2 separate regions of the Homo sapiens genome follow, and region 1 is linked to region 2. Evidence: promoter capture Hi-C in 16 types of primary human blood cells and fetal thymus (Javierre and others, 2016). All regions are on one chromosome and are shown on one strand. The core of a region is centred on a gene start or on the middle of the fragment in contact, and the rest is flanking DNA. Distances in the headings are between cores, read along the strand shown. Region 1 overlaps GABPB2 (GA binding protein transcription factor subunit beta 2). Region 2 holds the start of TMOD4 (tropomodulin 4).

Region 1 (3,777 bases), core at 908-3,407, 85 kb after region 2:
TGTCCCAGCTAAAGGGGAGGCTGAGGTAGGAGAATCTCTTGAGCCTGGGAGGTGGAGGCTGCACCACCACACTCTAGCCTGGGTGACAGAGTGAGACCACCGTCTCCAAAAAAAAAAAACAAAAACCATTAATAATAATAATAATAAATTGGAAAACTAGGCTGGGAGCAATGGCTCATGCCTGTAATCCCAGAACTTTGGAAGGCTGAGGATGGAAGGATCACTTGAGGCCAGGAGTCTGAGACCAGCCTGGTCAACGTAGTGAGATCTCATCTGTATTTTTTTTTTAAATATGATTTTAAAAAAATGGCTGGGTGCGGTGGCTCACGCCTGTAATCCCAGCACTTTGGGAGGCTGAGGCGGGTGGATCACGAGGTCAAGGGATGTAGACCATCCTGGCCAACATGGTTAAACCCCATCTCTACTAAAAATATAAAAATTAGCTGGGTGTGGTGGAGCACGCCTGTAGTCCCAGCTACTCCGGAGGCTGAGGCAGGAGAATCGCTTGAACCTGGGAGGCAGAGGTTGCAGTGAGCCAGTATTGCGCCACTGCACTCCAGCCTGGCGACAGAGCAAGACTCCATCTCAAAAAAAAAAAAAAAAAAAAAAAAATTAGAAAACTGGCTAGGCACAGTAACCCCACACCTGTCAGTGTTGGGAGGCTGAGGCAGGAGAATTGCTTGAGGCCAGGAGTGCAAGGCCAGCCTGGGCTGGGCAATACAACGAGACCCTATTCTCTACAAAAAATAAAAACAAAAATAAATTAGCTGGGCATGGTGCTGCATGCCTGTAGTCCTCCCAGCTACTTTGGAGGCTGAGGCAGTAGGATTGCTTGAACCCAGATGTTGAAAACTGCAGTGAGCTATGATCATGCCACTGCTCTCCAGCCAGGACAAAAGAGTGAGACCCTGTCTCAAATTTAAAAAATTGTTTTAGGGCCGGGCGTGGTGGCTCACACCTATAATTCCACCACTTTGGGAGTCCGAGGCAGGCAGATCACAAGGTCAGGAGTTTGAGACCAGCCTGGCCAACACAGTGAAACCCCATCTCTACTAAAAATACAAAAAAAAATTAGCTGAGCATGGTGGTGGGCGCCTGTAATCACAGCTACTTGGGAGGCTGAGGTAGGAGAATCGCTTGAACCCAGGAGGCGAAGGTTACAATGAGCCAAGATTGTGCCACCGCACTCGAGCCTGGGCGATAGTGCGAGACTTCATCTTTTTTTTTTTTTTTTTTTTTTTTTTTTTGAGACACAGGAGTGAGCCACCGCACCCAGCTGAGAGTTCATCTCAAAAAAAAAAAATTGTTTTAATAAATTAGAAAACAGTCAGGTGCGGTGACTCACATCTGTAATCCAAGCACTTTGGGAGGCCAAGGCAGGTGGATCACCTGAGGTCAGGAGTTTGAGACCAGCCTGGGCAACATGGTGAAACCCCGTCTCTACTAAAAATACAAAAATTGGCTGGGTGTAGTGGCGGGCGCCTGTAATCCCAGCTACTCGGGAGGCTGAGGCAGGAGAATCACTTCAACCCAGGAGGCAGAGGTTGTGGTGAGCAGAGATCGTGCCACTGCACTTCAGCCTGGGCCACAAGAGCAAGACTCCTTCTCAAAAATCAAACAAACAAACAAAAAATAAATAAGAAAACAGACTCCTCATAGCCATGAAGGTTTTTTTTTTTGTTTTTTTGTTTTTTTGTTTTGTTTTGTTTTGTTTTGAGACGGATTCTTGCTCTGTTGTCCAGGCTGGAGTGCAGTGGCGTGATCTTGCCTCACCACAACCTCCGCCTCCCAGGTTCAAGCGATTCTCCTGCCTCAGCTTCCTGAGTAGCTGCGATTACAGTCGCGCACCACCACGTCCTGCTAATTTTTTTTTGCTTTTTTTCAGTAGCGATGGGGTTTCACCATGTTGGTCTGGCTGGTCTCGAATTCCTGACCTTGTGATCCACCCGTCTCGGCCTCCCAAAGTGCTGGGATTATAGGCACCCGGCCTGCCATGAAGACTCCTGGAGATGCAACTTAATGCTATAACTGTCCTAAACTTAATCATTCCCAAGTCATTTCCTAGTACCCATTTAAGTAAGAAAACAGGAAAGTGGATGCCTTTTTAACAACATAACCTTGCCCCTATTCTTGCTTTACCCGAACAAGCAGTTCCACGATGTGCGCATGTCCATCGGCTGCAGCCATGTGCAAGGGGGTCCTGTCTACTTTAGTCCGGGCATCCCTGCTAACACCTGCTCGAAGGAGTACTTCTGCTGTGGAATAATGACCATATTGAGCTGCAAGGTGGAGGGGTGATGTTCCAAGCTGTGGAAAAATAATGCTCATTGAATATCCACTGTGTGCAGAGTCCTAGATCGTTACTGGAGAGATACAAATGAACAAGCTATGGTTCTTGTCCTTCAAGAGAGAATCTGGTTGGGCAGATAAAACTGAAAAAATGCTTAAATTTACAAATTAAAGGCCAGGGGCCAGGTGCACTGGCTCACACCTGTAATCCTAGCACTTTGGGAGGCCAGGGTGGGCAGATCACCTGAGGTCAGGAGTTCAAGACTCTTCTGGCCAACATGGTGAAACCCCGTCTCAACTAAAAAATACAAAAAAAGTTAGCCAGGCGTGGTGGTGGGCACCTGTAATCCCAGCTACTCAGGAGGCTGAGGCAGGGAGAATTGCTTTGAACCTGGGAGGCAGAGGTTGCAGTGAGCTGAGATTGTGCCACTGCACTCCAGCCTGGGCGACAGAGTGAAACACCGTCTCAAAAAAAAAAAAAAATTAACATGCTAATGGACAAATAAATATACCACCAATTGAATAAGTACTAAGTATAATGGCTTTATGTCAGGTGGATTTATCAGTTAAGATTCCCTAAAGGACGTGACTTTACGCAACGTCTAGAAGGTTAAAACAAACAAAAAAAGGATCAGGCTGGATGTGGTGGCTCATGCCTGCAATCCCAGCACTTTGGGAGGTCAAGGCAGGAGGACTGCTTGAGCCCAAGAGATCAAGACCAGCCTGGGCAACACAGAGAGACCTTATCTCATAATAAATTAAAAAATAAATAAATAAAGTAAATTTTAAAAAAGAAAAAGGGTAGAGACTAGAAAGTTACATGTGGAATTTGAGGTACAAATTTGACTGACTGGAAGAAAAGTTTTTTGCCACAGTAAAGCAGGGCAAAATGAATGATGAGATGAAGACGCAATAAAAATTTAGCAATGATGTATCAACAGCAATAAGTAAGTCTGTCATCCCAGTGTAAATCTTGTAAGAGTTATCTATCAGCATCCACTTTGGCCAGAGCTCTATTCCCTTCTTTTTGTTATGCTCTTTATTTTAAGCCTGTTTAGTTTATTCTTTGCTTTTTCATATATTTAGCCTCTCTGCCTGACTGAATTTAATTCACATTGTTCTTTCCAGGTCTATTTATAGAAATGCTAATTTCATGGGTTTCCTTTTCTTTCTTTTTGTGAAATGCTAATAATCTGTTGGCCTCTCAATTAATCAGTCCAGAATAGAGGTCACTCATTCATTGAAATTGTTAAAATTAGGCAATGTGTACAAAATCTGTGACTGCTAAGAAAGCCCACATTATAACTTGGACCTGTTTCTTCTGAAAGTCTTTGGTCTCCAAGATGGTTGAGGCTAAATTACACCTTCCTCTTTAATGTTTTTTGAACAGTGGTAAAGGAAACAAAACAGCTAGATGACTTCTTTTTTTTTTTTTGAAACAGAGTTTCCAAGCTGTAGTGCAATGGTGCAATCTCCGCTCACTGCAAC
Region 2 (3,857 bases), core at 970-3,469:
ATGGGAAAAAGGGACATTCTGATCATCCCCTCATTTCTTCCTTTGACCCTAAAGAGACATATGAGCGGCTCGAGGCTGATAAAAAGAAGCAGGTTCATAAGAAGCGGAAGTGCCCCGGGCCCATAATCACCTATCATTCAGTGACAGTGCCACTTGTTGGGGAGCCAGGCCCCAAGGAAGAGAACGTTGACATAGAAGGGTGAGTGAATCTCAAGAGGAAAAGAGATTGTGTGTTCAGCTCATGTTCTCTTGGCCCCATTTTGCTTGCTTTTCTCACACAGCTCTCCTTAACACTTGGAGATTTCTTTCAGATTCCTAACTCCCTTCAGCTCAATTTCTTTTTCTTTTTTTTTTTTTGAGACATGATGCTGCTCTGTCACCTAGGCTGGAATGCAGTGGTGCAGTCTCGGCTCACTGCAACCTCCACCTCCTGTGCTCAGGCGATCCTCCCACCTTAGCCTCCCAAGTAGCTGGGAGTACAGCCACACATGCTAATTTTTGTATTTTTTGTAGAGACGGTTTCGCTGTGTTGCCCAGACTCCTGGGTTAAAGTAATCGTCCCGCTTCATCTTCCTAAAATACTGGGATTACAGGTGTGAGCCACCGCGCCCAGCCCAGCTTATTTCTTTCTTATTCCTTTTTCTTTTAGCTTCTCTGTTCTTCTCTTTCCTGTTTTTCCTTCTAGCCTAGCTTTCTTTTCCCATCAGTCACTTAGTACGTTCCTCAGAATGTTCCCAACACCCTGCCTCCTTTTTCTCTTTCCTCATCTCTCTGATTTCCTTCTTTCTTTCTTTTCTTTTTTTTTTTTTTTTGAGATGGAGTCTCGCTGCTCTGTCACCCAGGCTGGAGTGTAATGGCACGATCTTGGTTCCATGCAACCTCCGCCTCCTGGCTTCAAGTGATTCTCCTGCCTCAACCTCCTGAGTAGCTGTGATTACAGGCATCCGCCACCACGCCCGGCTAATTTTTGTATTTTTAGTAGAGACAGGGTTTCACCTTGTTAGTCAGGCTGGTCTCGAACTCCTGACCTCGTCATCTGCCTGCCTCAGCCTCCCAAAGTGCTGGAATTACAGGTGTGAGCCACTGCACCCAGCCTGATTTCCTTCTTTCTGTATCTGTTGTCTTCTCTCCTCAGCTCTTTGTGTTTTTCCTTGTCTTTTGTCCTCAGACTTGATCCTGCTCCCTCGGTGTCTGCATTGACTCCTCATGCTGGGACTGGACCCGTCAACCCCCCTGCTCGCTGCTCACGTACCTTCATCACTTTTAGTGATGATGCAACTTTCGAGGAATGGTTCCCCCAAGGGCGGCCCCCAAAAGTCCCTGTTCGTGAGGTCTGTCCAGTGACCCATCGTCCAGCCCTATACCGGGACCCTGTTACAGACATACCCTATGCCACTGCTCGAGCCTTCAAGATCATTCGTGAGGCTTACAAGAAGTACATTACTGCCCATGGACTGCCGCCCACTGCCTCAGCCCTGGGCCCCGGCCCGCCACCTCCTGAGCCCCTCCCTGGCTCTGGGCCCCGAGCCTTGCGCCAGAAAATTGTCATTAAATGAAGAGATGTCTAGTCCTCAGAAACTTCTTTCCTGCCCTGATTGGGGCTCTTGCTGTTCCGTTTCTTCTCCCTGCTTCTCCCCTTTGTCATCTCTGATCTTTGCCTAATCTGTTTCTTTTTCCTTTTCCCCTAGTTCTTACAGGTTTCGTTGTGTTTTTTAATCTAATAAAATAGAAAGATCCCTTTTGTCTGGTGTCCAGTCTAGGGTTGGGAGCAAGAAGTATTTGAATACCTGCATATATTTGGGTCTTTATTCGATAGCATTTATTATGAGCTGTCCTTTCTAAATTGTATTCATTCCTCCAACTAAATTATAAACATCTGAAAATTGCACACCAAAACACATCCTTGTATTGACCTTCCTATCACTTTACACTCACTGTTTTGAATACAGCAGGCACCAAATAAGGAGGAACTGGCTGATTCTAGTCGAACTCATATGTCTCAGACTGGGGCTTGTATGAAGGGAAGTGGAAGAGATGCCATGGCTGTTAATGACCACTAGAGGCTCTCAGGGCTGGGCAGGGTATGGGGGCTGTGTATATGTGATCTCCCACTACCCCCCACCTGGCCAGAGCTAAAATAATAAAATGCTGAGCTCACTGTTCCCCCACCCTCTCCCCCGGCACCGGGCTCCTCCTGCTGCTGGGACAGTGCTCTAGTAGAACAGACAGACCTACTGACACAGGGGAGGTGAGAAGGGAGGTGACCACCAGGACTGGTAGGTGGGGAAGACAGGGGGCTTATGGATGAGAGCCCGGTGGGAGATGGGAGGAGAAGAGTGGCTCCTATGGGGAATGATGTGGAGTGTGTCCCTGTCTCTGTCACTCAGTGTATATTTCTGCCACTGTGCCGTCCTACCCCTTAACTGTGTATAGTTTACATTGTCGATGTGTCTCACATACTTTCTGGATCTTTCATATTCAGCATGGTGTGTATGCATAGCTCCTTATGCGTATCTTATATTGTACAAAATTGTGCGAGTTTAATATTCCCACTGTTTTTAAAGAAACTTTACCCTATTTACACCCATTGGTCTGGTGTCACCTTCCTGTCCAAAGCAAGGGACAGATTATGGGGACTCACAGAGGCCTTACTACCCTTCCCCCAACCTGGAAGTCCCCCAACTGCTCCGAGCCCTTGCTTTCCCTTAAGACTTCAAATTTTAGCAAACACAGAAAGTGAAATCTTGATCCCCCACAATAAAAGGGAAATGAGGATGGGGTAAGAGACTCTCTCTTCCCCTTACACCTCATTGTCCTTGGTTTTTTTATCCGGTTTAGGAAAAAGCCTGGATTATGAGGAGGAGAGGAGGAATTTCCCTGAAGCTCTCTATTCCCCCACCCCTCATCCCCTTTCAATAGGAACTGGGCATAGGACCAGCTGTGTTGGCAGGGCTTCCAGCAGCTGTGTTAGGGCGAAGGCACTGACAAGTGAGGTTATAGGGGAGGGGTGCTGCCAGGATTTCTCTGTCATACCGTGGGAAGACAAACCCAGCTTAGATGTCTGGGATCCCCATCCAGAGTGGCTGGAAGCTGGGGAAGCAGAAAGGAGACTCTAGTTCTAACTCTAAACAACCTAATCTTCCCCACTTCCCATCCTCAACTAGACTTCTAATCTCCAAGAAATCCAATCCAATGTTCTGCCCCCCTGGCTGGTCTCTTTGTGTCCCTGCTGTGTCCCTGTCCATCTTACCATTGTCCATCCTTTTGTCCCATGTTGCCCAGGCTCTGTGAGTACCACACAGTGGGGAGGGGGTGGGGGCCACCATGTCATCATATCAGAAGGAACTGGAGAAATACAGAGACATAGATGAAGATGAGATCCTAAGGACCTTGAGCCCCGAGGAGCTAGAGCAGCTGGACTGCGAACTACAGGAGATGGATCCTGAGGTAGGGGCTCCAGCACAGGGAACCAGAGGCAGTCCCAGGCATTTGGGAAGGGTGTTGGGCTCTGGGTGGCTGAGAATAGGGTTTGCTACAGGACCTAGGGTCCTAAGAAGGCCAGGGGAAAGGTGTCCGGTGATGTTTTAGGGAGCCCTAGCAGTACCTAGGTCAGAGGGGAGGTCTGACTTGCTCCCCAAAACTCATCCCTAAGAACATGCTCCTGCCAGCTGGACTAAGACAACGTGACCAGACAAAGAAGAGCCCAACGGGGCCACTGGACCGAGAGGCCCTTTTGCAGTACTTGGAGCAACAGGCACTAGAAGTCAAAGAGCGTGATGACTTGGTGCCCTTCACAGGCGAGAAGAAGGGTATGGGGACCCTGACATCCATGCCTCGTAGAACCCAAGTGGCTGTGC

Evidence for each region. Contacts are between HindIII fragments. The CHiCAGO score rates a contact against its expected background, and 5 or more counts as called.
Region 1: a fragment that was not itself captured here is called in contact with the fragment with the promoter of TMOD4 in region 2 in 1 of 17 cell types (megakaryocytes); the score reaches 5.6 in megakaryocytes.

Annotation. Positions count from the first base shown.
Region 1 is chr1:151,088,936-151,092,712 of GRCh38, reverse strand. It overlaps GABPB2 (GA binding protein transcription factor subunit beta 2), which reads right to left. Exons shown (of 9, transcript NM_144618.3): 3 at 2,140-2,307. Among named protein-coding and RNA genes, the nearest start is that of GABPB2, 20 kb to the right of the region's middle. The HindIII fragment of the contact is 4,511 bases long and covers 1-3,777 here.
Region 2 is chr1:151,174,343-151,178,199 of GRCh38, reverse strand. It overlaps TMOD4 (tropomodulin 4), which reads left to right and starts at 2,219. Exons shown (of 10, transcript NM_013353.3): 1 at 2,219-2,276; 2 at 3,283-3,447; 3 at 3,653-3,809. The coding sequence starts at 3,325. It overlaps VPS72 (vacuolar protein sorting 72 homolog), which reads left to right. Exons shown (of 6, transcript NM_005997.3): 5 at 55-199; 6 at 1,169-1,896. The coding sequence ends at 1,556. The HindIII fragment of the contact is 8,410 bases long and covers 1-3,857 here.